Linked DNA regions of Homo sapiens: region 1 is linked to region 2. Evidence: promoter capture Hi-C in 16 types of primary human blood cells and fetal thymus (Javierre and others, 2016). All regions are on one chromosome and are shown on one strand. The core of a region is centred on a gene start or on the middle of the fragment in contact, and the rest is flanking DNA. Distances in the headings are between cores, read along the strand shown.

Region 1 (3,214 bases), core at 666-3,165, 2.5 Mb after region 2:
AGTTCTCTACTTAATTATGAAATTGTGTGGGGATACTTCAAACTATATTGCAAGTGTTCCCATCTAGAATGTTTTTATTTAAATCTTTTGTGCAAAAGGTGTTCTCTCACTAAATGCCCAGAAAAGGTTCTAAAATTCTTTACTAAACATAATATTTTTGGTGACAATGACAATATGATATACAATGCCTTTACAAGTTTTTTGACCAATAGCTTTTGCAATATTTTAAGAGATAGTTTTCCATAATCTTTCTGTGATCATAACATTATAGACAGGCCTTATAAAACTAGTGACATGACAATAGAATTATGAGAAAAATTTTATAAAAGTGATAACTCAATATCAGATAAAGGGAGAAGGCTTTATTGAAAGAAATTTACTTTATCATTAATGAACACTATGTAAAATGTACATTTTTACGTGACTTGAATTAAAAAACTCTTAAAGTAACATTGTTATCTTTCCCCCAAAAGTTCTTCTTATACTTCCTATCTGTAATAGATTGTATTAATTTCTTTATACCCCATTCACAAATACATTCATAGTACATAAATTTTACTAGATAAAAATGAAGTACCTTTCTCATCAGCTTGCTTGTTTTTATGCTAAAGAAATAACTCTCTAGATAAAGAATATTTTTTGTATAACAAATTTAAGTAGAGGACTTTTTTTCTCTTTTGGTAGAAGTAGTTGCCCAACCTTGGGATGGCCTCCTCCTACATACATTTTTTTTAGCCTTTCACTGACCCTTGAACACTTTACCAGTTGCTGAGGGCAACTGCCTTTGGGTAAGAAACACCAGATCAGATATAAAAGCTCAGAGGGTAAAGAAACAGACTCAGAACACGGGAGATGCTCTGAGAGGGGCACCCGAAAACACTGGAAAATGATCTTGAGTGTTAATGACTCCAGTGTTGTCCTGGCTGTTGGGAGGCTGCGGTGGTTTTACCCATATTCACAAGGGGGAAATGAAAACTATTAAATAACTTTTTTTTTTTTTTCTGAGACAGAGTTTTGTTCTTGTTGCCCAGGCTAGAGGGCAATGGTGCAATCTCGGCTCACTGCAACCTCTGCCTCCTGGGTTCAAGCAATTCTCCTGCCTCAGCCTCCCGAGTAGCTAGGATTACAGGTGCTCGCCACTGCGACCAGCTAATTTTTGTATTTTTAGCAGGGACGGGGTTTGTCCACGTTGGCCAAGCTGGTCTCAAACTCCTGACCTCAGTTGATCCATCCTCCTCGGCCTCCTAAAGTGCTGGGATTACAGGCGTGAGCCACCACACCCGGCCTAAATGACTTTTTAAAATTCCCTTTTATTTTATTCTTGCTTTCCCATTAAATCACACATTTTCCTCACATTTCTATGAATAGAAATTCAGAACTTTTATCCCTGGAATTTTTACTGAGTGACTTAATACAGTACCTGGCACAGATTATGGAAAGGAAAAGGAGAGAAAAATGTCTTGGTGACATTAATCATTGTCCTGTTTGGTTAGAAAAGGGTGCCATTAATGGCTTTTGAAGTGTGTAGAATAATAGCCTAGCAGAAAATAAATATTGCCAGAGGAAATAGAAAAGCTTAATAAACTGCTAATTTTTATGTTATGCATAATACTAAATCAAAAGTTCCGTTAGTTCTGTATGGAGTGAAATACTTAAATATTTTAAATAAAAACGCTCCTGCTTTCTCCATGGCCTGTTTATTCAGCTTGAGATTATGTTTCAGTTGGTGGAGGTAGCTTGAAGTCCAACATTAATAAGGAAAGCACAACCGCAACTTTGTTTATACTTTTTTATTTAAAAAAAAAGTAAATAGGCCAGGCGCAGTGGCTCATGCCTCTAATCCCAGCACACTGGGAGGCCAAGGCAGGTGAATCACCTGAGGTCAGGAGTTCGAGACCAGCTTGACCAACATGGAGAAACCCCACCTCTACTGAAAATACAAAATTAGCCAGGTGTGGTGGTGGCATATGCCTGTAATCCCAGCTATTCGGGAGGCTGGGGCAGGAGAATCACTTGAACCCAGGAGGTGGATGTTGCAGTGAGCTGAGATCGCACCATTGCACTCCAGCCTGGGCAACAAGAGTGAAACTCTATCTCAAAAAAAATTAAATTAAACTAAATTAAATAGAACAAAGCCAGGAAATCATGTTGCCAGAGGGCTCAGGAGGGTCTCCAGATACCTGTGAGACCGCAGCCCCACCTGGCGTCCAGATTCTTGACACCATCACTACGAAGAATTCAGGGACAAAGGCTCAAGAAGCTTTTATTGCAAAGTGAAAGTACACACAGGAGAAGAGGACAGATGTGTCCGTGACAATGAGTCATGCACAACAGAATTTGGGGTTTCTGATTTTACGGGTGTTCAATTGAAAGGTGGAATCATCATTAGATATTCTGAAAAAGGAGGGGATATCAGGGACCTCTGCTAACCACCCCCTTTCTCCCTTGTTTGGGTTTCCTCAGAAGAGTCATGGACATGCCACCTTGACCGGGATTTTGGCCATTTTCTCTCTCTTAGTTTTATTGCCCTAAATTCTAGCCATACCAATGGCTTTCAGTGCTCCAAATACATCCCTCCATGCCTGGGTACTTTAGCCATGCTTTCCCCAGTCAGTGATGGTGGGCTAGGCACCTTCCAAGGCAAATGCTCACATACTCTCAGGACCTACCTCTAACACTTCCAGGGCCATGACTCAGAGGTTCCTCCAGAAGCCATGTAGATTACTCCCCAATTCCCCTTACTCCATGCATCTCGTACATCTCTATTCAATGCCATACCATACTGAATTAGAATTGCCTGTTTTAAGAGTGTTTCACAGGCACTCTTGTAGATGCATTTCAAAACTCTGAAAAGTGACTGATACGGAGCTGGTCTTGACTCAATAAATCCCTCAATCTTTTCTCCCGGTCCCATCACCTTGCCTACGTTTTTCTCTTGCCTGAGCCTTAACAGGTAGCACTCACTGTCTTCTGGGATGGCTCTGCTTATAAGATTCTTGAGGATGCCATTCAGAAATACTTGTATTTAAAGAGTATGTGAGATGATGAATTTGCTTAACTGTAATAATCATTTCACTATGTATAAATATGTCAATATATCATGTTGTGCTTCTTAAATTTATACAATTAATAAACTAAAACTTTTTTTAAAAGCCAAAACTAATTGTGTTTAGGAAACCAATTTAGAGATTTTAAAAATTAGCCCTCAAAGACA
Region 2 (3,310 bases), core at 755-3,254:
CTTTGGAGAAAAGGAAAAGGGCGTGAGGTTTCGGTCATTTTTGTCAAAGGAAATCAGATGAAAAGGGGTGTACAAAGGACCAGGTCTCGTGAGCGCAGCCAATCTTGTCCGCTCCCAAGCGACTCAGGCTCTTGGCAGGACTTGCTGTAGAGTCCCAGACGGAGTTAGCCACTGAGTCCTTCAGCGACCCAGGAAATAACAACACTGTTGGCAGGTGGGGGAGGGCGCCCGGGAAGATATCCAATAGTGGCGTCAGGCAAGAGGACAGAAATGCTCCTTTCATTCACCTTTCGAAGCAGAGCATTTGGTCCCCGTTGGCCTCTGACTCTCTGTTGCGGCAATCTAGATGTTACCAGAATTCCCGTGTTTCCTTCATATTCAAAGGCACAGGAAATCTGGGGTGCAAGCGGACTGCTGTCTCTCAAGGAATAGAAGTCTGTGACAAACGTATAGAAATGAGTTTCATGTTGAACAAGATCCGTTTCTGCGTTCCTCCCTCATCCAGCCTTGATTCTCCAGATGCTTACCAACTTCTTAATATTTACCTCAACTGCAAGGCTTTCAACCGGCGCTTTTGTTAGAATACTACTATCTTCCCATTAAAGCAATGTCCACACTCAGTTTGCTTGGTGAAAATGTTAATAACGCACACTTAGAAAAACGGTGATAACCGTTGCTTGCATAAAGTGGCCATTTGAATAGACTTTGGATCTGATTTAGAGATTTAGGGATGGATGTTTTAAAAAAAGCAAAAGTAGTAACAGACTATAGCATTGGTAATGTGTGTGTGCATATATACATATTATTTTTAAAAAAATAAAGTTCGATTATTTCACCTGGCTTGTCAGTCACCTATGCAGGCGTCTGAGCCCCCGGGTTTCCAGGAGCCCCCCGTATAAGGACCCCAGGGACTCCTCTCCCCACGCGGCCGGGCCGCCCGCCCGGCCCCCAGCCCGGAGAGCTGCCACCGACCCCCTCAACGTCCCAAGCCCCAGCTCTGTCGCCCGCGTTCCTTCCTCTTCCTGGGCCACAATCTTGGCTTTCCCGGGCCGGCTTCACGCAGTTGCGCAGGAGCCCGCGGGGGAAGACCTCTCGTGGGGACCTCGAGCACGACGTGCGACCCTAAATCCCCACATCTCCTCTGCCGCCTCGCAGGCCACATGCACCGGGAGCCGGGCGGGGCAGGCGCGGCCCGCAAGGACCCCCGCGATGGAGACGCAACACTGCCGCGACTGCACTTGGGGCAGCCCCGCCGCGTCCCAGCCGCCTCCCGGCAGGAAGCGTAGGTGTGTGAGCCGACCCGGAGCGAGCCGCGCCCTCGGGCCAGCGTGGGCAGGGCGCCGCAGCCTGCGCAGCCCCGAGGACCCCGCGTCGCTCTCCCGAGCCAGGGTTCTCAGGAGCGGGCCGCGCAGGAGACGTTAGAGGGGGTTGTTAGCGGCTGTTGGGAGAACGGGTCACGGAAACAGTCCCTTCCAAAGCCGGGGCCATCGTGGGGTGGGCGAGTCCGCCCTCCCAGGCCGGGGGCGCGGACCAGAGGGGACGTGTGCAGACGGCCGCGGTCAGCCCCACCTCGCCCGGGCGGAGACGCACAGCTGGAGCTGGAGGGCCGTCGCCCGTTGGGCCCTCAGGGGCCTGAACGCCCAGGGGTCGCGGCGAGTCCACCCGGAGCGAGTCAGGTGAGCAGGTCGCCATGGCGATGCGGCCCCGGAGAGCGCACGCCTGCCGCGGTCGGCATGGAAACGCTCCCGCTAGGTCCGGGGGCGCCGCTGATTGGCCGATTCAACAGACGCGGGTGGGCAGCTCAGCCGCATCGCTAAGCCCGGCCGCCTCCCAGGCTGGAATCCCTCGACACTTGGTCCTTCCCGCCCCGCCCTTCCGTGCCCTGCCCTTCCCTGCCCTTCCCCGCCCTGCCCCGCCCGGCCCGGCCCGGCCCTGCCCAACCCTGCCCCGCCCTGCCCCGCCCAGCCGGCCACCTCTTAACCGCGATCCTCCAGTGCACTTGCCAGTTGTTCCGGACACATAGAAAGATAACGACGGGAAGAGCGGGGCCCGCTTTGGGGTCCAGGCAGGTTTTGGGGCCTCCTGTCTGGTGGGAGGAGGCCGCAGCGCAGCACCCTGCTCGTCACTTGGGATGGAGACCGGCTTTCCCGCAATCATGTACCCTGGATCTTTTATTGGGGGCTGGGGAGAAGAGTATCTCAGCTGGGAAGGACCGGGGCTCCCAGATTTCGTCTTCCAGGTAACGTGGGTTTAGTATCCCGACTTGGAGGCTTGTCAGAATGTTTCTCTCCTTCCAGCCCAACACGAAGTCTTGGGATAAAAAGCCTCCCTCAGGGATTCAAATAACTGTTTTGATTCAGAGCAACTTTGATCGCCTGTGCGGTCGCACCTGCCCTTTCAGCCCCAATAATTACTGGGAAGATCAGCAATTGGTGTTAGTCCCATTGCTTGGTGCTCTCCCTCCTAGAGGTTCGCTGTGTCCTTGGAGCCCGGGGTGGACGGAATCGACTAAACAGCTTGTCTGTTTCTCTTTCCCTGGTAGCAGCAGCCCGTGGAGTCTGAAGCAATGCACTGCAGCAACCCCAAGAGTGGAGTTGTGCTGGCTACAGTGGCCCGAGGTCCCGATGCTTGTCAGATACTCACCAGAGCCCCGCTGGGCCAGGATCCCCCGCAGAGGACAGTGCTAGGGCTGCTAACTGCAAATGGGCAGTACAGGAGGACCTGTGGCCAGGTAATGACTCAGACGCATTGAGAATGATGCTTGTGGAGAACAGCTCTCCTGCTTTGGTGCCAGGTGCTTTTCTCTTGCCCTTGTACCTACAACTCCCCCTGAGTATTACAACCCTGGAATCTGGACTACAGGAAAGTTGATTGATTTATTTTCTTTCTTTCTTTCTTTCTTTCTTTCTTTCTTTCTTTCTTTCTTTCTTTCTTTCTTTCTTTCTTTCTTTCGTTCTTTCTTTCTTTCTTTTCTTTCTCTTTCTTTCCTTCTTTCTTTTTCTTTGTTTCTCTTCCTTCTTCCTTTCCTTTTTTTTTCTTTCCTTTCCTTTCCTTCTTTTTTTTTTTTTGAGACGGAGTTTCGCTCTTGTCGCCAGGCTGGAGTGCAGTGACGCGATCTCGGCTCACTGCAACCTCCACCTCCCGGGTTCAAGCGATTCTCCTGCCTCAGCCTCCCGAGTAGCTGGGATTTCAGGCACCCACCACCACGCCCGGCTAATTTTTGTGTTTTTAGTAGAGATGGGATTTCACCATGTTGGCCAGGCTGGTCACCAACTCCTGACCTCAGGTGACCCGCCCACCTCGGCCTCCC

The links. Contacts are between HindIII fragments. The CHiCAGO score rates a contact against its expected background, and 5 or more counts as called.
Region 1: a fragment that was not itself captured here is called in contact with the fragment with the promoter of CCNA1 in region 2 in 2 of 17 cell types (total CD4 T cells and total B cells); the score reaches 7.6 in total CD4 T cells.

What each region holds. Positions count from the first base shown.
Region 1 is chr13:38,912,051-38,915,264 of GRCh38, forward strand. It overlaps the pseudogene ANKRD26P2. Among named protein-coding and RNA genes, the nearest start is that of STOML3, 77 kb to the right of the region's middle. The HindIII fragment of the contact is 685 bases long and covers 1,574-2,258 here.
Region 2 is chr13:36,430,491-36,433,800 of GRCh38, forward strand. It overlaps CCNA1 (cyclin A1), which reads left to right and starts at 2,005. Exons shown (of 9, transcript NM_001413923.1): 1 at 2,005-2,239; 2 at 2,543-2,731. The coding sequence starts at 2,567. RefSeq lists silencers at 1,309-1,378, 1,659-1,708, 1,739-1,898. The HindIII fragment of the contact is 15,627 bases long and covers 1-3,310 here.